4 separate regions of the Homo sapiens genome follow, and all the other regions are linked to region 3. Evidence: promoter capture Hi-C in 16 types of primary human blood cells and fetal thymus (Javierre and others, 2016). All regions are on one chromosome and are shown on one strand. The core of a region is centred on a gene start or on the middle of the fragment in contact, and the rest is flanking DNA. Distances in the headings are between cores, read along the strand shown. Region 1 overlaps COL1A2 (collagen type I alpha 2 chain). Region 2 has its middle 40 kb from the start of CASD1. Region 3 holds the start of PPP1R9A-AS1 (PPP1R9A antisense RNA 1). Region 4 has its middle 51 kb from the start of COL1A2.

What was found. The method cuts DNA at HindIII sites, captures the fragments that hold promoters and counts their contacts. A CHiCAGO score of 5 or more calls a contact.
Region 1: a fragment that was not itself captured here is called in contact with the fragment with the promoter of PPP1R9A-AS1 in region 3 in 3 of 17 cell types (M1 macrophages, M2 macrophages and M0 macrophages); the score reaches 7.1 in M1 macrophages.
Region 2: a contact is called between a fragment that was not itself captured here and the fragment with the promoter of PPP1R9A-AS1 in region 3, in 4 of 17 cell types (M0 macrophages, M2 macrophages, total B cells and 1 more). The highest score is 6.3, in M0 macrophages.
Region 4: a fragment that was not itself captured here is called in contact with the fragment with the promoter of PPP1R9A-AS1 in region 3 in 7 of 17 cell types (M0 macrophages, M2 macrophages, naive B cells and 4 more); the score reaches 10.4 in M0 macrophages.

The regions. Positions count from the first base shown.
Region 1 is chr7:94,425,400-94,431,658 of GRCh38, reverse strand. COL1A2 (collagen type I alpha 2 chain) reads right to left here. Exons shown (of 52, transcript NM_000089.4): 43 at 5,996-6,049; 44 at 5,802-5,909; 45 at 5,608-5,661; 46 at 5,129-5,236; 47 at 4,598-4,651; 48 at 4,364-4,471; 49 at 3,774-4,032; 50 at 3,182-3,366; 51 at 2,229-2,471; 52 at 432-1,412. The coding sequence ends at 1,266. Among named protein-coding and RNA genes, the nearest start is that of COL1A2, 34 kb to the right of the region's middle. The HindIII fragment of the contact is 3,339 bases long and covers 2,593-5,931 here.
Region 2 is chr7:94,467,168-94,473,300 of GRCh38, reverse strand. No RefSeq gene overlaps it. Among named protein-coding and RNA genes, the nearest start is that of CASD1, 40 kb to the left of the region's middle. The HindIII fragment of the contact is 3,609 bases long and covers 1,384-4,992 here.
Region 3 is chr7:95,212,005-95,217,853 of GRCh38, reverse strand. PPP1R9A-AS1 (PPP1R9A antisense RNA 1) reads left to right here and starts at 3,522. Exons shown (of 4, transcript NR_183324.1): 1 at 3,522-3,669. The region is part of intron 7 of PPP1R9A (protein phosphatase 1 regulatory subunit 9A); the gene reads right to left. The HindIII fragment of the contact is 3,393 bases long and covers 517-3,909 here.
Region 4 is chr7:94,443,213-94,449,525 of GRCh38, reverse strand. No RefSeq gene overlaps it. Among named protein-coding and RNA genes, the nearest start is that of COL1A2, 51 kb to the right of the region's middle. The HindIII fragment of the contact is 2,249 bases long and covers 3,137-5,385 here.

The DNA of each region.
Region 1 (6,259 bases), core at 3,013-5,512, 790 kb after region 3:
TGTTTTAGTTAATAGTATTAATTGCTCATAGACCAACTTTCAGCCACTGTTATAAAGTGCTTAATATATAATAAACCAAGTTTCTATAGACCTTTGGTTATAGTAAAATTAGGTCAAAAATGCCATGTTGCTTAAATATTACATATTTTGAGTAGGGCAAATGCTTAATAGTGCTGAAAAGGAATTTTTTCATATTATAGCTATGGAAACTGAAATGCAGAGGCTCAGAGTTTCAAGGTCACTCAGCCACAAGGAACAGAGCCAGAACTGGAGTTCAGCTCTCCTGGGTCCTCGTTCTCTGCTCTTTCTACCACACCAAACTGCCCTTTTTGCATAATTTCTATCTAATCAGAGGCACTTGGTCTAATGGCTGGTAGAGATGCATATTTATATTGCAAAGAGCATTGAAGCAAGGAATTTTACTCAATATGTTCTTTTGGAAAACCAAACATGCTTTATTTCATTTTTTTCACAATTTATTTAAACATCTCACATATACAAAATAGGTACAATTTAATTTTTCTGCTTGCCCAAGAAACAAAGCTTCTGTGGAACCATGGAAGAAGATGAAAATGAGACTGGCAAAGAACAAATGCTGAATCTGAAGAAGATTTGGGCAAATAATCTGCATACTTTTAATTGGGAATAAGATGGAAAATATGAATGCTAAATCAAATTTTTTAAAAAATACACCACACGATACAACTCAATACAGGAGTATTTCTTCTCAAATTCTTCTAGCACCATCAACATTCTTCAAGTATCTGAAATACTATTAATTAGCACCTTTGTATTATGAACAAAACAAAACAAGGACCTCAGTTCATCTCTGTCTAGGTCAGCACCTAACAATGTGGATCACACTCATGGGAAAGTGTTTTGAGGTAGTTTAAACCTTTGGAAGTTTGGGTTTTAAACTTCCCTCTGTGGAAGATATTCAAAAGCCACAAGTGGTGCAAATGTTTATGGTTTTTATTTTTCAATTTTTATTTTGGTTTTCTTACAAAGGTTGACATTTTCCATAACAGGTGTAAGAGTGTTGAAAAAAAAATTCAAATTTTTGGGGGAGCGGGGGAAGGAGTTAATGAAACTGTATTGCACAATGCTCTGATCAATCCTTCTTTTTCTCTTTTGCCCACAATTTAAGCAAGTAGATGTGCAGAAGAAATGGAAGGATTCAGCTTTCAGTTAAAAAAGAAGAAGAAGAAATGGCAAAGAGAAAGTTTTTTCAAATTTCTTTCTTTTTTAATTTAGATTGAGTTCATTTATTTGAAACAGACTGGGCCAATGTCCACAAAGAATTCCTGGTCAGCACCACCGATGTCCAAAGGTGCAATATCAAGGAAGGGCAGGCGTGATGGCTTATTTGTTTTGTATTCAATGATTGTCTTTCCCCATTCATTTGTCTTTTTCTGTTTAAAGAGAAGAAAATAGATACACAAAGCATCACTATTTCTGAATCTGATAATATCTGAACCTTTGATTTAATAAGAACCACTGTTTGGCATGTGTCATTCTGAAGATGTCTGTCCCAGATAAATAAGTTCATCCTTGAAATAACAGTATCAAGGGTGTCTTTAGTGGGAGGGGCTCCCTATCAGTCTAACAAAAAACAAACAAACAAACAAACCAAAAAAACCAACAACATTTCAACACACATTCCAAGTGACCTATCTCTACAAAGTCATTTTTAGGATTGTTGTGTGTATGTCCCTCTATGTGTGTCTTTGGGAGCGGGACCTGGGTGGGTATGTAGTCTTGCTGTTAGTGAATTTTAATTTTTCTTATATTTATAGCATATTGTAGAAAAAGCATTAAAAGTTAAATGTAGGCCATACTAATAAGTAAAATAAAATACACATAACTATAAATTATAGTTTAGGCCACTGAAGTCTCAAGAAATTTTAAGTTCTGGGCACACATTACCATTTAAAAAACATGCTAAAGAAAAAACAATGCATGGACATAGTATACATTTCAGCATTTCAGAAGGCACTATCTGATAAGAATACTCTGAATTTATCATCTGAATTTAAGTACGAAATTAATACGTATAAATAAATAAATATAAAATACATACAAAAACTGAATTTACTTATGAAATAAGTTAGTTCTCTCATTCTTCTGTTCTTTTAACCCCCCTTTAGACCCCCCCTTGGGGGCAGTCTAAGTTAGAACCCCCTCCATCCCACTTCCCAAAGCTATTCCCATATTTCACTATTACTTACAGAGCAGCCATCTACAAGAACAGTGTAAGTGAACCTGCTGTTGCCCTCAGCAACAAGTTCAACATCATTAGAGCCCTGTAGAATGACAGCCTTTTTCAGGTTGCCAGTCTCCTCATCCATGTATGCAATGCTGTTCTTGCAGTGGTAGGTGATGTTCTGAGAGGCATAGTTGGCCAGCAGGCGCATGAAGGCAAGTTGGGTAGCCATTTCCTTGGAAGTCACTCCTTCTACATTATATTCAAACTACAGAAAATAGGATGAAATTCCAGTTAAGTGGAGAAGGACTCAGATACTAAGAGTCAAACATGAAAAAAAAAAAAAAGAAAAAAAAAGATCTCAGGAAGAGTAGACTCAGATCCAAGCTTAGGAAAAGGGTACTTTTAAAGAAAACTTAATTCACTTGTCTTTGAAGTATCAGTTACCTAGATGAACATAAGACCTACTAGACTGAGGCAAGGTCATCTAAAAAAGTTATCTGTTTCAATTAATCCTTTTTGCATATGCTTCTTCTTTAGAATAAGAGAATGAGGAGGTAGAAATTCTGACATTTTTCTTTTTCTGTCATTTTGTAATTTATGGAATTCCAGTAGGCATTCAGTAAAGTTGGTGAAAAGGTTTGATTAAAAATTCAGAAAAGCTGCTCACATTCTGAAAATGCATATGTATGAGTGTGGCATATAGCTGGCCAGTGCTCCTTCACACTAAATGACATTAGTCAGTTTTTTCAATGATTACCAATTAAGTCAAATTTGAATAATAACTTTGAATTACATGGATGTGTCCAATCAATCCATCTTCTAATGTGCAATTTAGGACAAAATTGGAACCCAGGAAAGGAACAGGTCTTTTTTTAATAAGCCCATTTTTGTCAGAGATTAAAATGCAGATAATTAACAAACAGTCCTACCAAAATATTATTTAGCAGAAGGAGAGGTGTTTGTGGGATTCCTCACCTGGCTGCCAGCATTGATAGTTTCTCCTAGCCAGACGTGTTTCTTGTCCTTGGAGCTCCTATACCAGTTCTTGGCTGGGATGTTTTCAGGTTGGGCCCGGATACAGGTTTCGCCAGTAGAGAAATCACAGTATACTTTGATAGCATCCATAGTGCATCCTTGGTTAGGGTCAATCCAGTAGTAACCTTTTAAGAAAATAACATTCAGATCATGAAACTTCTCATTGAGCAGAACACAGATTCTAATAATAACTAATGAAAGATACTGACTCTCATAAGTAACATTTTTGATTGTCTACCCCATATTTAAGAGGAAGAGGGTGGCTATTTTTAAGATTAGACAGTTCCTTCCCTCCCCTCCTCCATGAAAAATCAAATCAGGGTACTTATTACTATGAAAAGTGCAAAAATACATTTTAAGGGAAATGAGGTTGGGTGCTGGTTGGGAGAAGATGACGCTCCATTAATTGGGTGTGATTTCACATAATGTAATCTTTACCCAAATGCATTTTCACTCTAAATGTCAATGGAAACTAATTTTGAAAAGCTCAACTTGTGAGAAGGGTCAGTCTGGTCTGGACATCTTGACCTACCACTGCTCCACTCTGGGTGGCTGAGTCTCAAGTCACGGCATGTGCGAGCTGGGTTCTTTCTAGAGCCTTCAGGAGTAAGAAGGGTCTCAATCTGGTTGTTGAGAGACTTCAGAGTAGCATCAACTTCATAGTCCTTGGGTCTGAGAGAAGGTGCTGAGCGAGGCTGGTCAGCCCTGTAGAAGTCTCCATCGTAACCAAAGTCATAACCACCACCGCTTACACCTGGAGGTCCAGGAGGGCCAGGGGGACCAGGGGGGCCCTGCAAAGGTGAAAGTGAGATAGGAGAGGCTTTATATTTTGTTACAGTGAGAGACATCCATGGCAGCAGATTTTCAGTTGAGCTTCACACGGAAGCATGTTCTCATCAGTAAAAAATAATCAAGTTCACATAAATAAATAACGAGCCCCCAGGCACACTTGCAGGGATGGACTTAACAAGCCCATTGCATATAGACAATTTCCAGATATTTTAGAGGATATATTGAAATGGGGCTAACTTTAATGGGTTGTCAAAGTTGTCTTGGTTTAGTCTGAAGAAAACATTCCTTAGGTCCGTGATCTTCTTTATTATTTCCCCAAATCATACTTACAGCAGGGCCTTGGTGACCCTGAGGGCCTCGAATGCCAGCAGGTCCAACTGTACCAGGATGTCCAGTGCGACCATCTTTTCCAGCAGGGCCAGAAGGACCAGCAGGGCCCTAAGGAAGACAGACACCAGGTACATGTGAGCTGGTGAATCCCACCAAGGGAGCAGCAGCCTGGGGCTCACTGCTCGCTTTAGCCTCTATTTCAGAGATGAACTGTCTTCTCTTGAGTCCACCTACCCTAGGACCAGCAGGACCCACGGAGCCAGGAGCACCTTGATCACCATGGTGACCCTTTAAAGACAGAAGAGGAAAATCACACTTTCAGAGCACATGTCAAGAGACATATTTTTTTTTTTTTTCCAAATTGAATGGGAAACTTTAGTTAAATGGACTCCGGATTGAGAAAATTGAAAATGTAAAGTGGGGCTCTTTTCTCCCATTATGTCTATTATATTCAATTTTTTTTTCACAACCTATTTCAGCAGTGCAATATTAGTCATTCCTCTAATTATGTTTATTTTAAGTGGGGTTGAAGGACATTGTTACCAGGAGATTTTATTGTATGTCTATTTCTATCTCCCTTAATCCTCACCTTTCATGTTGGTATGAAATAGCATTACCTCCAAGAGTGAGATGGAGTTAGCCAGAGAATGGGAAATGGATATTATATAGGCTATACTGGAACAATAGCAGTGAAAATATGAAAATCCTTCTGAGCTGAAGGCCTTCAGGATCAGTTTATGTGCGAGATGGCTACAGTTTACTTACAGCGATACCAGGCAGACCTTGCAATCCATTGTGTCCCTTTAAGCCAGGAAGACCTCTGGGCCCCTTTTCACCGGGCTCTCCCTTATCGCCACGAATGCCTTGTGGGCCCTATAAAGAAACAGAAGGATGGATAAGACTTACCGTTTTAAAAAAATGGCACTCACTTCACCACAAATACTGCTTAATTCGTTTACAAAGGTAACTCAGGACATGTAATGGTTTAGCTAGGCTCTCACCTCTGCTGGTAATCTGCTTTAGTTGTGCTATCTGTAAAGTGGCTAGATCCTTGTAATTGTTTAATACAAACAAGCATAAGAGATTTAAAATAGCTCAAGTTATTTGTATCAATTCTCAGCATGGACTGAAATTTTTAAAAAATATTAAGTCTAGCTGATATATTGTTTATTTTCTTAACAGATGTTTTGGACTGATTCTCTCTAAATGTTAGTGTTGCAAAGAAATCTTCAGCATGTACATACACTAGGACCTCTTGGGCCAACAGCACCAGCAGGACCAACAGGACCAGAAGGACCCTGTGAAATGAAAAAGAAAAACACAACTTAGCTAGGCCCAAGATACCCCTCCCCACTCCTCCACCATCCCCAAGTGTGGGGAAGTCAGAAGTGAAGCCCACGAGAATGCTGCACTGAGGGACTGGTATTCACAAACTTACAGTTTCACCACGGTTTCCATGTTTGCCAGCAGGACCCACGGGGCCATGAGGACCAGGTGCACCTGCAGCACCAACGGGACCAATATTGCCAGGGTAACCGCGCTCTCCCTACCAAAGGCAAAATGAAGCTTAGCATCAATCTGGGTTGCATTTTAATCACTTTTGAATTAGAGAAAGATGAAAAGTGTACTGACCTTGTGTCCGGGTTGACCATCGCGACCTGGGGGACCATCGTTCCCAGGGTTGCCCTGTGAAGACACCACACAAATTAAGGCTGTTGGTGAGGCTCTGCTGCCTACCAGCCCCTATGTTGTAGCTACTCTGTCTTCATCACTTCCAGTGCTCAGTAACGAACCCTCTTTCAGACTGTTAAAACTAGGGATAAAAACCTGCCAACCTAGATATTTTTTAGAGATGTTTTAAATACTTGGGCCCAGTTTTGCAGTGTGCTATTGAAA
Region 2 (6,133 bases), core at 1,939-4,438, 740 kb after region 3:
TATGGATTACACATTTTTAAAGAGTTTGTATTGAGTATCATCAATCCTAAAGCTTCCTTCAATAAGTGCAGCCAATATTAATTGAACACTTCCTTTGTACCAAGTGCTATGTTAAACAACTTACATGAAATTTCATTTAATTTTCTAAACAGGTCTGTAAAGTAAGCTTTTAAAATCATCATCTCACTTTACATGTAAATAAATTGAGAAGTCATGTAGGTAATCACTGAAACTCAAGCCCAAGTTTGGGCACTCGAAACACATGCTCTTATACATAAGTTGATTATATTTAAATATAAATTGATTATCCTTTGAAGATTCAGAAAGAATGACTCATGACATTATTGTGTTCCAAAGACATCATTAAGAACACTACTACTTATTATGATTGCATTTATCATGTCTTTTCTATATGCTAAACATTGTGCTATGAATAGAATTATGCTTCGATTGTGAGCAATTCCAGTTTTAAAAAGTTGATTCAAAACACCTAAACAAATATTGTTTCATTATTTCTATTCAGTTTCACTAGACTTGCTACTCTGTGGTTAGTGATTCAGAATGAAAAGTGAATAAAGCAAAGGTCTTGCTTTTTAGGAGATTATAATCCCAGGTAAAGTGGTTGCTCTGGGGGTTAATGTGTATAACTTTTTACTCTTAATTTAGAGTTAATAGGGTACCTAATTTAGAGTAAATAGGGACATTTAGCCTACACAAAATGTGGAAACTTTACTATCATATAGGCTTAATATTCCCCCACCTATCCTTTATGTGATATAATGATATGATCATATATCATGATGTATTGTGCATTATATATAGCACAATTATCATGTATGATTACATCCACATACACTATAAATCCTCAATAAGTTTTATAGTTTTTGACCTAAATACCTAGATATATTTTAAAGAGATTAAGTAGTAGTTTTTTATATTTACCCAGATATTATATTTCCAAGCATCTTCATTCCTTCCTGATGATCTGAGTTTTCAGCTGGTATAATTTCTCTTCAGTTTGAAGAATTTTATTTAGGATTTCAGCAGATTTGCTAGAAGACACATTTTCCTAGTTTTCTTTTATTTGAAAATTGTATTATAGTATTTCACTTTCAGTCCAATAGGATATATTTGCTGCATATGAAATTCTGAGTTGACACTTTTTTTCCAGAACTTTGAAGATATTTGTTTATGGAATTATGGCCTACACAGTGTCAGATGCAAAATCTGGGATGATTTGAACCTTATGTAATTATGTTATTCTTTTTCTGGCTTCTTTCAAGAGTTCTCTTTTTCTCTGGTTTTCAGCAGTTAAGACTACGATGTATTTACACATAGCTTCTTCATTTATCATGTTTGAGGGTCACCGAGCTTTTTCAAGCTTTATATTTATGCCTTTTACCCAATTTTGGAAAAATTTGGCTAATTTTTCAAATTTTTTTTGCCACATTCTTTCCTGTCATTCTGTGATTCCAATTATACATATGTTATGTCTTTTGATATTGTCTTAGAGTTCTCTGAGACTCTGCTCATTTTCTTCCAATCTTTTTAATTTTTTTGTCTATTCTTCAGATTGGACTATTTCTATTGTATTATCAAGTTCACTGACTAGTTGCTCTGTCATCTCTATTTTGCTGCTAAACCTATATAATGATTCTTTTTACAATTTCAGACATTTTATTTTTTAGTTTTAGAATTCGTTAGCTTATTTTAATAAATATTTCAAAATATTTCATATTTTATTTATCTTTACTGAGATTTCCTATTATTTTATTTATTGCTAACATATTTTTCCTTATTTCACTGACCATAGTTATAACAGCTACTTTAAAATCTTTGCCTACTAATTCCAACTTCTGTATCATCCAGGGTTGGTGTATATATTTACCAACATTAGTATAACAATATTCTATCTTTTCTGTCGAGAAAAGTAATACTTCCTGTTTTAAAAATATATTCAGTAATTTCTATACCCTGGGCACTGTCAGGGTTATATTGTGCATTCTTTTATAGTCTTCCAAAAGTTCTGATTTTTTTTTCAGATATTAAACTCGGGTGGACTCAAGCATCAAACGCTGTCTCTTGTGTGGCAGCTAAAATCACAGTTAATTGTTAAGAATCTTTATCTCGATTTTGTCTGGCAAGTGCATCATTTAGGAGTCAGCTAAAGTTAAAAAAACGTATATTGAGATATAATTTATAATTTTACATAGCATAAATTAACCAAATATAAGTGTACAATGTGATAAATTTTGGTAAATTTGTGTATTTGTGTAAAATTACCTCAATTCTGTTTTAGAACATTTCCATCACCCCCTAAAATTTATTTGTGCCCATTTGTTGTTAATTTCCACTCCCACCCATAGCCCTAGGCAACTGTGGATCTACTTCTGTGTGTATAAGTTTACCTTTTCTAGAAATTTTCTGTTAATAGAATGGTACACTATATAGCCATTTGTGTCGGTCTTCTTTCACTTAACATTTTTTTGAGGTTCATCTATGTTGTTGAATACATGAGCAGTCTACTCTTTTTCGTTGCTGAATAGTATTTTATTGTGTGCCTATACCTCATGTGTTCATCCATTCATCAGCTGATGGGCATTTGGATTACTACCAGTTTTGGGCTATTTTGAATAATGCTGTTATTAACATTTGCGTACATGTCTTTATGTAGATGTATGTTTTTATTATTTGCCTTATCTGCTTTTAAATCCAAGTATTAGATTCTTATTTCAGTTATCTTTTCAACTTCTACAATTTCCACTTTATTTTATTTAGTAGATTCCTTGTTTCTTATGAATTCTCCATTCTTTTCTCAATTTTCATGAACATATTAAACATTATTATTAGTTTATTATTGTTTGTAGAAACAAAGTCTCACTATGTTGCCCAGGCCAGTCTCAAACTCCTGGGCTCAAGCAATCCTTTTGCCTCAGTCTCCCAAAGCACTGGGATTACAGGCATGAGCCGCAACACCTGGCCATAATGTTATTTTGAGGTCTCTAATGATAGCTCCACTATTTGGGTCATCTTTACTTCCATTTCATTGTCAAATCTTTCCTAGTTTTTTGTTATATGTTCCAATTTCTTATCTTGCCTAACAATATTTGATGGAATACTAGAGATTCTGTATGAAAAATTATACAGGCCTTAGATGACGATATCTTTCCCCAAAGATAATTTAATTTCATTTTGGCAAGTAGATAGAGATATAACAGGTCACTTTTATCTAGTCAAGAGTGGATTCCAAGAGTGGATTCTATACTGTGATGGAACTGGTCTAGTTTTAATTTGCCTTTATTCCTTATTTTTTACTTCTAAGGTATAACCTTTTTATGGTCTCATGTGAAATCATGGGGGTGTTTCCTGGGTCCCCTCTACTTTTGTGAGCCCTGAATTATAATCTATATGCCCTTGGTACTACCATACTGCTAAAATCTTTGCTTAGCTCTTTGGCATACTGGTACTTTCTGCTAGATGTTTAGGAGTCTTGCTTTGTGTATATGCAGTTTTGGGGATGGCCACCCCTTGCAAGGAAATTGCATGCAGAATTTCACGCTTACTTTTATGTGTTTTCTTCCCCAAATTTTAACTCTATTACATGCCCTCACCCCCAAACTCTGTTTCTTCAGCCCAGTGAGAGTGTCGTAAGCCAGGTTTGTCTTTCTTTTTAATCTCTGTTTCTCTCAGATGCAAATTTGCAGATGTCTTGAAGGGAAATACAGGGCAGAATCTCACTTCAGTGTGTTTTCCTTCTCTCCCGGACTGCTGCTTCTCAAGTCCTGTCTGCTGGAAGTGCTCTTGAATGTTGTCAAACTATTGTTTCATGCATTTTATAGTTAACTTGGGCAAGAACTGCTCTGATATGAGCATTTCTGAAATAGCTGCAAGCAGAGTTTTCCCAATTATTTGGAAAAACATACAAGAAAATCCCTACTTTTTGCTGCAATATACTTCTGTAATATAATTCCGTCAAAGCAGTGAGTAATTTTTTTAATCAGATGCTTCTATGGTGCTTCAATTTAGAGTTTCATTTGTGACCAGAAGGCTTGACATCAAATAAATCCCAAGTTATAAATCAACTATAAAATTTACACAAGAATATAATAATTTAAAATTGTAAATGCAGGCTAGATTTCTTTGTGCAGCATAGAAAGGACCTCAACATATGTGATGTGTAATGTATTAAAGAAAAAATTTTATTGTACTAATATTGTGCTCCATTGTTAATATATCAGCTACTATTGGCATTTAGTTTATTATATTTTTATCTTAGAATGTAAAAAAAAATTAAGGAATGACAATTTGAGTGGCCCAGTTCTTTTTAAAAGGTCTCTAATACAGTTAAATTACTTGCTACATTTTATCTAAATAAGACCTTTATTGAGAATTGAATTATTTTATTAATCTTACTTCTAACCAAAAATATTATAGCACATAAAATATTTATTGATATTGCTGTTGATGACTATCAAGATGCTGCTTCTGCTAAACATTATTTTAAAAGTAATGATTGGCTGGGCACAGTGGCTCACATCTGTAGTCCCAGGATTTTGGGAGGCCGAGACAGGTGGATTGCTCTAGCTCAGGAGTTTGAGACCAGCCTGGACAACAAGGTGAAACCTCATGTCTACCAGAAATACAAAAAATTAGCCAGTGTGTGCCTGTGATTCCAGCTATTCAGGAGGATGAGGTGGGAGGATCACTTGAGCCAGGGAGGCAGAGGTTGCAGTGAGCTGAGATCACACCGCTATACTCAATCCTGGGTGACAGAGTGAGACCCTGTCACAACAAAAGTAAAAATTGACTAATTATTTTTCTCTTTCTTACCCTTGTCTAAGGTTTTGCAAACTGTAAGTATAGCTATTACATATCAGAACAGGAAATAATTTTTGCCTATTCACTATCATTGATACTTTGACAATTATCAAGAGGCTTAACATTTTATTATAATCTGCATGAAAAATGAACATTTCCTTTAAGAAAGAAGCTTCGGCTTGACTTATAGAATTGCAGAAGTAGCTATGAAAATGTAAAGATTATATAAAAATGTTGTTTGTAAGGGAAAATTTAAGACTTTGGAATGCACAAATGAGATTACTGTATATAAATTCAATGCAATGCTAGAGCCTTTGGGGGTTATTGAACATGTAGGGATATGCGATTTTGTCTTTAGCTAAGCTATTTTACTACTCTGTATACGGTAAAGTTAACTTGAAACAGGTAGCAATGCAAATAATTCTTGCCTATAGACATGCAAATAAATTCTATCTATGAGGGGAAACACCTTTTCTCCTGTGGAAAACTCAGTTTTGCAAATTCATTTCAATATTTCAGATTCATAAATTTGTCTTCTATGAGGTCTCTTTTGAACCCATTGCAATAGGTCTCTCGATCAATTAAAGAGTTAAATAACATCTTTGACATGTGTTAATCATATATTTGTATGAGAGTCAAGTTTTTACTTTTTTGAAAATGACTATAATTCATACCATATATACATTCAGATGAGGATGGAATTTAGGTTGATAGAACAGGTGAAATGATGATCCGTGAAAGTGGGAAAGACAAGAGTCTGCTTCCTTCTCTGGGCTTAAAATATAGATTCACTCAACACAGGAAACAGGTCCACAAAATCACAGAGATTGCTCCAGATTTTCTTGTTGTTTGTTTTAGTAGTGCTTATACAAAGTCTATTTTTGCATTAAAACTGTTGCATACACTGCAATCATTTTTAACACTATTCCTTATTTTACTCTTTATTTCAAAGTTTATAGATTGATATAGTGACTAAAACTGTCCACATTTCTGATAATGAATATCAATAAAGAGGGAGTGGAATAGCTAGAAGCACAAACAATTATATATTTGCAAATCATTCAGATGCAGGACAGTTTCCTAGGCCACTTACAAAATAAAATTAGGTGCAATTCTGTACCCCTTCCCCTGTGGAGAAAATGCAGAGTGATTTTCCCATCACTGCTACTGCACTAGATACCCAGGATTTTATCTCTCTTATCTTGGGCTTGAAGGAGTTTCTGAAGTGTCATAATTAGAATGGGGGTTTCTCCATAGGGTATTCAGACAGGACTTGGTAAAATCATATAACCCAGGAGGCATCATCCCTGCCCAA
Region 3 (5,849 bases), core at 2,273-4,772:
AGAATCAAATAGATGCAATTAGAAATGATAAAGGGGATATCACCACTGATCCCACAGAAATACAAACTACCATCACAGAATACTATAAACACATCTACGCAAATAAACTAGAAAATCTAGAAGAAATGGATAAATTCCCAGACACATACACTCTCCTAAGACTAAACCAGGAAGAAGTTGAATCTCTGAATATACCAATAACAGGCTCTGAAATTGAGGCAATAATTAAGAGCCTACCAACCAAAAAAAGTCCAGGACCAGACGGATTCACAGCTGAATTCTACCAGAGGTACAAGGAGGAGCTGGTACCATTCCTTCTGAAACTATTCCAATCAATAGAAAAAGAGGGAATCCTCCCTAACTCATTTTATGAGGCCAGCATCATCCTGATGCCAAAGCCTGGCAGAGACACAACAAAAAAAAAGAGAATTTTAGACCAATATCCCTGATGAACATTGATGTGAATATCCTCAATAAAATATTGGCAAACCAAATCCAGCAGCACATCAAAAAGCTTATCCACCATGATCAAGTGGGCTTCATCACTGGGATGCAAGGCTGGTTCCTCACACGCAAATCAATAAACGTAATCCAGCATGTAAACAGAACCAAAGACAAAAACCACATGATTATCTCAATAGATGCAGAAAAGGCCTTTGACAAAATTCAACAGCGCTTCATGCTAAAAACTCTCAATGAATTAGGTATTGTTGGGACATATCTCAAAATAATAAGAGCTATTTATGACAAACCCACAGCCAATATCATACTGAATGGCCCAAAACTGGAAGCCTTCCCTTTGAAAACTGGCACAAGACAGGGATGCCCTCTCTCACCACTCCTATTCAACATAGTGTTGGAAGTTCTGGCCAGGGCAATCAGGCAGGAGAAAGAAATAAAGGGTATTCAATGAGGAAAAGAGGAAGTCAAATTGTCCCTGTTTGCAGATGACATTATTGTATATTTAGAAAACCCCATCGTCTCAGCCCAAAATCTCCTTAAGCTGATAAACAACTTCAGCAAAGTCTCAGGATACAAAACCAATGTGCAAAAATCACAAGCATTCTTATACACCAATAACAGACAAACAGAGAGCCAAATCATGAGTGAACTCCCTTTCACAATTGGTTCAAAGAGAATAAAATACCTAGGAATCCCAACTTACAAGGGATGTGAAGGACCTCCCCAAGGAGAACTACAAACCACTGCTCAACGAAATAAAAGAGGATACAAACAAATGGAAGAACATTCCATGCTCATGGATAGGTAGAATCAATATCGTGAAAATGGCCATACTGCCCAAGGTAATTTATAGATTCAATGCCATCCCCATCAAGCTATCAATGACTTTCTTCACAGAACTGGAAAAAACTACTCTAAAGTTCATACGGAACCAAAAAAGAGCCTGCATTGCCAAGACAATCCTAAGCCAAAAGAAGAAAGCTGGAGGCATCATGCTACCTGACTTCAAACTATACTACAAGGCTACAGTAACCAAAACAGCATGGTACTGGTGCCAAAACAGACATATAGACCAATGGAACAGAACAGAGCCCTCAGAAATAATACCACACATCTACAACCATCTGATCTTTGATAAACCTGACAAAAACAAGCAATGGGGAAAGGATTCCCTATTTAATAAATGGAAAACTGGCTAGCCATATGTAGAAAGCTGAAACTGGATCCCTTCCTTATACCTTATACAAAAATTCATTCAAGATGGATTAAAGACTTAAATGTTAGACCTAAAACCATAAAAACCCTAGAGGAAAACCTAGGCAATACCATTCAGAACATAGGCATGGGCAAGGACTTCATGTCTAATACACCAAAAGCAATGGCAACAAAAGCCAAAATTGACAAATGGGATCTAATTAAATTAAAGGGCTTCTTCACAGCAAAAGAAACTACCATCAGAGTGAACAGGCAACCTACAGAATGGGAGAAAATTTTTGCAATCTACTCATCTGACAAAGGGCTAATATCCAGAATCTACAAAGAACTGAAACAAATTTACAAGAAAAAAACAAACAACCCCATCAAAAAGTGGGCGAAGGATATGAACATACACTTCTCAAAAGTAGACATTTATGCAGCCAACAGACATATGAAAAAATGCTCATCATCACTGGCCATCAGAGAAATGCAAATCAAAACCACAATGAGATACCATCTCATGCCAGTTAGAATGGCGATCATTAAAAAGTCAGGAAACAAAAGGTGCTGGAGAGGATGTGGAGAAATAGGAACACTTTTACACTGTTGGTGGGACTGTAAACTAGTTCAACCATTGTGGAAGACAGTGTGGCGATTCCTCAAGGATCTAGAACTAGAAATACCATTTGACCCAGCAATCCCATTACTGGGTATATACCCAAAGGATTATAAATCATGCTGCTATAAAGACACATGCACACGTATGTTTATTGTGGCACTATTCACAATAGCAAGGACTTGGAACCAACCCAAATGTCCAACAATGATAGAGTGGATTAAGAAAATGTGGCACATATACACCATGGAATACTATGCAGCCATAAAAAAGGATGAGCTCATGTCCTTTGTTGGGACATGGATGAAGCTGGAAACCATCATTCTCAGTAAACTGTTGCAAGAACAAAAAAAACAAACACCGCATGTTCTCATTCATAGGTGGGAATTGAACAATGAGAACACTTGGACACAGGAAGGGGAACATCACACACCGGGGCCTGTTGTGGGTGGGGGGAGGGGGGAGGGAAAGCATTAGGAGATATACCCAATATAAATGACGAGTTAATGGGTGCAGCATACCAACATGGCACATGTATACATATGTAACAAACCTGCACATTGTGCACATGTACCCTAGAACTTAAAGTTTATATATATTAAAAAAAAAGAATATTTCCTGATTTTTCACTCCATTCTCATTGTCTAGTCACCCACTCAAGAAACATCTAAAATCCTTCTCTAGATTACTCATATGGCGTCTGTGTTCCTTACCTTCAGGCTCTCACCTTGTCAGGTCATTGGTAATATTGCTGAAAAATTATTCTTCCTAAAATTTTGACCAAAAAAATCATTATTTGCCAATAAAATATTTTCCGACAACTCAAATCCATTCTTTAGTTTTTATCCCCTTCCTTTTAGAAAGTATACTCCAGAAGCTGGGACTCTATTTCCTACTATAGGAGGCAGACTCCAAAATGACCCCAATGACCTTGCTTTCTGGGTGTTCATGCCCTTGTATAATCCCTTCCCACTGAGTGAGGGCTGAATGACAGATTTCCAACAACCAGAATACAACAAAAGTAATGGAATGCCACTTCTCAGATTAGTTGAAAAAAAAAGACTGTGATTTGTGCCTCTTTTGTCCTCTTGCTCTCTCTCTCTCAGCCCTCACTATTGGGAAGCAAGTTGCCATCTTATGAGCAGGGAGAGGCCCACATCCCAAGGAGCTGATGTTTCTGGCCAACAGCCAGTGAGGACCTGAGGCCTGCCAGGTCACATGAGGGAGCCTGGAAGTGGGTCTTCTCAGTCCTGCCAACAGCTGTGAGTGAGCATGGACGCAGATCCTCTCCCAGTGGAGCATTTGGATGACCACGGCTCTGGCTAACACCTCACTTACAGCCTTGGGAGAGATTCTGAGTCAGAGGCATCCAGCTAAATTGACCCACAGACACGGTAATGTACAAATATTTCTTCTTTTAAGTTGCTAAGTTTTGGTGGTAGTTTGTAATGCAGCAAATTGAAGAGGGATGCTGCCAAAACAAATACAGAAAAAAACAGGGAAGTGGCTTGGAAACAGGCAGTGGGCGAAGGCTAGGATTCTGAAGAGTGTATTGGAGCAAGACTAAATTGCACTGCACAGATTGTGAGTGGAAACTGGAAGGGAGCGTGCTTATTATGTAGTGACACAAAGCTTAGCAACATTATCACCTTCTCTAACGAGAAAGTAGGAAGTGTTCCTTGTGAACAGGGTGATCTGGCTAAGTAGACTTCTAAACACAGTGGTGAAGGTGCAGCCTGATTTCTTCTTGCTGCTTGTAGTAAAATGTAAAAAGAATAGAGTTCAGCTGAGAGTACTATTAAACAGAAAGGAATTCTTTCTGTTTAAACAGAAACTTGATGGTTTTCAAAGTCTTAAAATTAAGTCTACAGTTAAGAAATGGCTTCCAAACAGAGTTCAAATCCATGGAACTGCCAGAAGAATGCGGTTTAAAAATGAAGCAGAATGTATAACCAGGCTGGGCGTGGAGGCTCACACCTGTAATCCCAACACTTTGGAAGGCTGAGGTGGGTGGATCACTTGAGGTCAGGAGTTTGAGACCAGCCTGGCCAACATGGTGAAACCTTGTTTCTACTAAAACAAAATACAAAATTAGCTGGGAATGGTGGCACTGGCCTGTAATCCCAGCTACTTGGGAGGCTGAGGCATGAGAAACGCTTGAACCCGTAAGGCAGAGATTGCAGTCAGCCAAGATTGCATCAATGTGCTGTAGTCTAGGCAACAGAGCAAAACTCTGTCTCCAAAAAAAAAAAAAAAAAGAAAGAGAAAGAAAGATAGTACAACCAATAAAATCTTAAGAATTCTGCCCTTAGGAAATTCAAATTTTTGAATAATGAGTGATAAACAAACCTGTCACTGCCTAAAGGGACATACTGTCTCCCAATGATACCAACATCATTGGAAAGATAATCTGAAACATAGGCTGCTGGTGCTGCTGCTGCTCAAAAAACAAGCAGAGAAGGGAGAACCCATGGAGGAATTGTCTCCAAACAACGTCCACCCTCATTTCTACACAGTCTTGGCTTGAGGTGAATTTTCTCCGAGTATGGCATTCCCTTGGCCACACTGATCAATGTAACCAAGAGTGGCTAGGACCAAAGCCATTCAGTCTATCTCAGAGCATATGATTAATACTACTATCAATAGGATTCCAAGCAGCAGAATTAGTCTAACTTTCGGCATTGATAACAACTATATTCTCTAGGCTCCCAGACCCAACTGGTTAAAGAAATCCCATAAACCATCAGGATATACCTTAGAAACCCAGGACTTTCTCCTTAAGCTTCTGTATTGACCTTTCCACTTGGCCTAAGGTATTGAACCAGGTACAGCAGGATCAATAATTACATAGACTCAAACCTTGGCATACAAGGAGGAAGTCTAGGGGTTAGAGCAATTCTACTGTCCAGAAAAACCCTGGCCAAAAGGTTGAGGCTGACATGACTGCCTTCCAGGACTGAGGTGGTACCAATAACCACATTACCTAAAATCAGGAACCATTTTCATAAGATCTTATCTGATTAAATGACTTTAATCATAAGGACAATTGCCTGTAGGGCTCATACAAATAATAAATTAGTTATCCCTCAGGAAAGCTCCCTTTAGTAACTAAGAGTAGCCTCATTTTGGAGGGATCTCTATAATCATCTGAAGGCTACATGATCTAATGGTGGTCTTTCTTTAAATACATATATATATTTTAAAATTCTTTAAAATATCCTAAAGAAAAGATTTCATTTTTTCTTTATTTTTAAGAAAAGACTTCTTACAAAGGTCTTTCTTTGGTGATGGATATCCCAAGTAAACGGATTTGATCTTTACAAATTAAATGAATATATTAAATTGTCACATGTACCCTGAAATGATGTATATCTTATGCATCAATAAAAATATTTTTAAAAGAATCACCTGGAGATCCTATTAAACTGCAGATTCTGATTCTATTTTTAAAAGCCTTTCTTTAAATACATTTAAATATATAAAAATTCCTCTAAGGTGCAGCTACATAAGCAGTTCAAAGAATGTGACCAGTTGCCACAATTTGCTTCCACTGTTTGCCATCCCAAACTTTTTT
Region 4 (6,313 bases), core at 3,012-5,511, 770 kb after region 3:
AACCAGGGTAATTTTATTCCATGTTGTGTAATGTTCTTACTTGTGATTATTCCTGCAGGTTTCTCTTTTTCTTTTTTTAAGGGCAACAACTAAAGGGCAACAACAGCTGCTGGAGTTACAGTTGTCAGACATTTTAGGTAGCTTTCCCCTTTGCAATAAACAGTTCTGTCGAAAATACCAAACAGTGTATATGTTGAGATTGCCACCCACTGGTGAAAATAGAGAATTTCCATTTTAATGAGTAATTTTAAAAAACATTTGTTTTTTTGTTTTCAGAATATGAGTTTGTACATTTAGGTTCTTTAAGAAATATGTTTCAAATCCCATTAGGAGGATTAAAAATTTCATTATTACAAATCAAGTTAATGTTCTACTGGAAGCATAAAACAATCATCATTATGAAAACATTTAAAGACCTTTATTTACATCTCTTGTATCCTCCACAAAGAAGAAAAAGTGAAAAAAGTTGTAAAACTAAATATGCCAAAGTGTTATCAGTGGTTATTGTTGATTAAAAGAGATCAAAATAATTTTTCTGCTTCCTTACAATTTTACTTACATTTTTCCTACAAAAAGCTTGTATTGCTTTAAAAGAAAATATAAACCTAAAGAAGAAAAATAGTTACATGTATGTATATAAATTTAAATGTATCTTTGGTGCTTTATGGAGTGTTAAAAAAGAAAAAGTATCACCCTAAATCAATGCCACATTTAACTAAACAGATACAAAAGGAACAAAAGCTTAGAGATTGAACTGCAGCTTTCATCACTTCACTAGCACAAATTTTAAATTCAAATGCATACATAAGAATTTATTATGTGATAAAGATGTAATTTCAAATCCGTGTACAAGGATGCTTGGTCACCTTACATTATATAACAAATAAATCCCAGATGTTAAAAATTCAAATTCAAAATTAAATAAACTTTAAAACATATAAGTGAGGCTGGGCATGGTGGCTCACACCTGTAATCCTAGCACTTTGGGAGGCTGAGGCGGGCAGATTGCCTGAGTTCAGGAGTTTGAGACCAGCCTGGGCAACATGGTGAAGCCCTGTCTCTACTAAAATACAAAAGAAATTAGCCAGGCATGGCAGTGTGCGCTTGTAGTCCCAGCTACTCAGGAGGCTGAGGCAGGAGAATTGCTTGAACAGGAGAGGTGGAGGTTGCAGTGAGCAGAGATCGCACCACTGAACTCCAGTCTGGGTGACAGAGCAAGACTCCATCTCTACAAAAAAAAAAAAAATCATATAAGTGAATATTTAGCTTAAGCAAAAAGGCAAAGAAAAAAATTATGAAGAAAAAATATAAAGGAAAACATATGTGCATGAAAATTGCCATAAAAGGAAATGATAAAATGGAAAAATTATTTATAGCATACAGAATGGACAAAATAAATAAGACATCATTTAAAATGGTCTATGAGCATTTGAAAAACACATTTAACTTCAATACTAATCAAAAGATTGTATGTTTTTTAAAAATGAAAAGTTTTGCTATAAAATTGGCCAAGATTTAAAAGATTTTATTATATCCAATGTTATCAAAAGTACTTCATGTTATAAAACTATTCTGCTGCTTAAAATTATTTCTTAAGAAGATATATAATAACATGGAAAAATGCTCATATAAAATTTAAATTAAAAATAGAATTTAATAATAAAATGGTTTTTTCTATATCTGTCCAGAAGTATATATTCCAAAGTTTAAATAGTGATTATCTGTATTACTTGAGTTATTGGTGATAATTGGCTTCATTCATTTCTGTATTTTTTAAACTTTTTGTAAAAAAAATTGCAAGTATACAAACTGCTTATTAAATTTTCTTTAAAATCGGGGTATAAAATAATACATATAGTTTGATTAATATTTTAGTAAAAATGAAAGTGTGTGTATATATAATTACATATATTTAAAATTCATATGTGTATTAAAACATATTTTAGAATTTTAATAGTGATTATATGCATGGTTACTTATATGGTTATGTTTTTATGGTTTAAGTAGTGGTTATAGGTGGCTATAGGTGATTATTTTCTTCATCATTCATTTTGTGATTATTTCACTACAGATAAAAATGTATGTGATATATGTATACATTAAAAATTATCTTTAGAAAGATACTTAGTAATACGAAAAAACATTTATGAAAACTTTAGTTAAAAACACAAAAAAACACAACCTAATATATGCAGCTTGTTCACAATTTGGTAGAAATGGAAGCACATGTCTATTTTATTCGTATGTGTATATGAATAGATTTTAAAAACTTGGAAGGGCATGTTCTAAAGTTTTAATTGTGATTATAGTACTGTGAATATAGTGGATAGTTTTCTTCTTCATTCATTTCTAACTTTTTAACTAGAAATCATAAAGCCTACACATATATATCATACACATCAAATTGTATACATTAAATATGTGCAGTTTATGCCAATTATATCTCAATAAAGCTGATAAAAATGTATAATGCTGTTCAATAAAACAAGTTTATTGTTTATAAAAAGAAACATGAATAATTTTAAAACACAAAATATTCACTTTTTACTAGCTCAGTGCCCATTTGTACGGTTGGTTCAAAAGTAATTGCGGTTTTTGCCATTAATTACTTTTAATACAATACCCAATACATTTAAAAATATTTGTTCGCTAGCATTTGGCACAGTTATGAAATAGCATTTTAAACAGGTTTTAAAAGTTTGGATCTGCACATTCTTTGCAAGGTTGGTAGGGAGGGGTGAGTGGGGTAGAATATTACTACTTATCAAGATATGTTAGTCCCTAAAAAGAAATGAATATCATGTCCAAGAAGCTGACTACTTTGTGGAAACATTCAGCTATTTATTTTTTCATTACAAGACGGTGATTTCTTATGATTAACAGATTTAAGTAAGCAAGCAAGCAAGCATGATGTGAATTTTCAAAAGAAACCACTAATTTAGATCCTACCGTCTCTCGTTAACATGTCCTGTGCTGAAGTATTAAATTTATTGATTACGTGAACTGTTAAATAGTCCATCTGCAATGCAAATGTAACTTTAAAATTAAAAATCTGACATCAATTCATTTTTCTCAAGAGACTTCAGAACTAAATTAAACACTTGATATGAGGCAGCCAGCCTTTTCTGATAAAGCTTTCAAATATCCGGCATGTTAAAAGTGTGCTGCTAGGTATGTGAAAGATGGCACTAGGCAAAGAATGACAGTCTCAATCATTTTTTAATAAAGGAAAATACACAGCTCTCCTGTGAAGCTGCATACTGCTTGACTGGTGGGCAATACTAATATGTATTCAGAGATATGATGATGTATCTGCTTGTCTTGCTGAGCTGTGCAGAGACGTCTTGCACAGATGCTCCCATGTGATAGCTGGCTGTATAGTTTGGTCTGCCTTCCTTGCAAGGCTCACAGTCTAAAACCCCAGCAGCTAATTTTTAAATACTAATGCATAGCACAGACCTAAGAATGAATAGAAATACTCATCCCTGAGGCATGTCATGAGTTGATTATAATAAAAATTGCTTAATTATTTATTGGTAGTTGCTTTATAAATTACTCTCTGGTTTTGCTGGAGGGCATAAACTGTGAGATGGGAGAAAAGAGTTAGAGAGCTGAAATAGTCAGGGGACACTGTGGTTAAGGGTTTCCCATACTACACAAATGCCTTTGGACTTTATCCTGCAAGTGCTGTGGAAACAGGAATCTTTTAACAGGGAGTTGAAAGGTCAGAGTTGTGTTTTCTCTGTGTAATGGAAGATGGATTTGAGGGGAACGAGAAAAGAGGCAGGTAGTAACTAGTTAAGGTGAAAGGCTGAAGTGAAAAGTTGCAGTACTGCCGAAAAAGAAGGGAGGAAGCCCCAAAAACAAAGGCTAAAGAAGTAAAGCTATAGAAAAACATTTAGGAGGATATGGTAGTTGATTGGATGTGAGAACCAGAGGTAAAGGAGAGGAAAGAATTGTATTTTCTGTTTTGTATAACTGGGTAAATAGTAGTAACCCCTTTAGCTGATACTGAAATCACAGGTGCTAATGCAGATTAGAAGAGGAAACATTAAGTGGCTGATTGACCTACTTTTCCTGATGCATGCATGCAGTCACTCAGCAATTTTATAAGAGCAATTGTATAGACAAACATACAATAAACAATGACAGCAAAATTATAAACAAAGTGCTCCAACTAAATCACAAAGGGCCAGGAAAACATGAGAATCTTTTTATGAAGCTCATATTAGGGACATGGACAAAGATGTAACAATTAGATTATATTAATTGTATTTGTTATGTTGCAATGGGAATGATTTTACTTGCTATAATAATGAGCTCTGTTATAATGGGTATTCTCCTTGATCTCACCTATTCATTCATTAGAATGAGGTTTTATTCTTTTCCTTTCACAGAGTAAATATACAATAAGATCAAATAAATTTTGATGATTGCCAACAGATGGTGAGGGGCTCAACTTGAGGACCATCTGATCTTTGGCTTTTCAGTTCTTTCCGGCTGTTCTTTCTACTTAATTACCTTCCCCTCACTTCCTAATCCCTTCCATGTAATTCTACACCAAGACTGGGTCTAGCACTATTAATTTTCCACAGCCTACGCTGTTTTCTGATAAGATATTCTTTCTTAGCTGGTTGCTAATGGACCTAAACAGTCTGGTTTTAGCAGAACCTTTCAATCCTATTTGAATCATGTCTTTGCTCAATTTATTAATTCAGTTTAATGCAGAGAATTTAAAACTTACTCTTACAATTTAATCTCATTTCAAATCTGACACAATGAATCAACCACCAGTGATTTTACATAATCAAAGAACCATTTCAACTAACCTGTCTTTAAAATCCTTCTATGTGAGACATATATTTTTTTCAATCATTAAAACAGGCTTACTAGAGTGATATATGTGTTTCAGTAACAAATTTCCCTCATTACCTGAATGCATCTCTGCATCTTTTGAGAATGAAGCAGAGAAAATATTGCTGTAATAGATATTTTAACAATATATCACGGAAGCACGAAAGATTAGGAATGTCTAAACACTCAGAAAGGACCTCCTAGGGCAATTTTCTAAAGATTTTTTTATGTATATTTATATAATCCATATCTAGACAGAACCTTTTTTTCCTTGACAGGTGTATTTTAACAACCAGTTCAATATAAGGAGGCTGTCTCCGTGTTCTGTTCAATAGTCCCTAATAACACTGCTTTACCAAGGGAGACGAATAAAATTTTGTTGATTGAAACATACTGCGTCATAATGTGTTCTCATGTTTCCGTAATGTTTAGCAGTAATTTAACAAAGTGCTTGTTCATTTGAATCAGAAATTGTACATCAAAACTATATATTGTTCTACATGTAGCCTGCATTCATAATACAATAAAGCTTAGTTTTAAATATACCATCTATGTTTTGTGAATGCTAGTTAAAAATAATCCTAGTTTCTTCTGATAATGAAAGTAATATATGTTTATGTTTTTTTGAAAAATGCAGACAGATTAAAGAAAAAACCCTGGCAATATGCATCACCTCACTAGAGATAATGGTTATTAATATTTTTACATACATCCTTTCTGAATTTTTATGCATATCTGTAAAAAATAAAAATTTTTAAGCAAACTTGAACTTGTATGTAATGATTTACATGGATAATCACTGCACACATTAACTTAGATGAATTTTACTCTCTCTGTGTGTGAGACAGACAATAATTTAATTAAATTTTTAAAATTTCTCTTCATTTAGCTCATGAATATATGCTTTGGAATAAGCATGAGATGGGGGATAGGAATTTCTTTTTTCTTAGTCAATTCCAGTTTCTGTGTGTCTCACATGGTGTGTGCAACTTGCTACAGTGACTATGATTCTGATGGCAAAAATACATATTTTTCTTATAACATGGTCTATACTCAGGCCAACAACTTTCATGCACAATCACAGAAACAGCCATGTATTCTAATACTAAAAGAAAAACTGTGTGGAAGTTATGGTATTTGGTCTTCAACCTAGAGATTTTCAAGGGTAATGTTGATTATGCAAAACTTTTTCTCCATTATGTGCTGGTTTTAAAACCTAACTTCCTGCATGGGATGCAACTCCCCTGTAATCTATACTTGTTTATTTTAGCAAATAGCTATTAATTTTCTTCTATAAGTATATTTTGAGAACATTTAAAATACTGGATTGCAATCCATCAAATGGATGCACCATATCTACTTAAACCAATCCACTATTATTAGACATTTGGTTAATTTCCAATGTTTTGTTATAAATAAAGCTATGACAACTGTTGCGCTTGAGATATGATATGAGGGT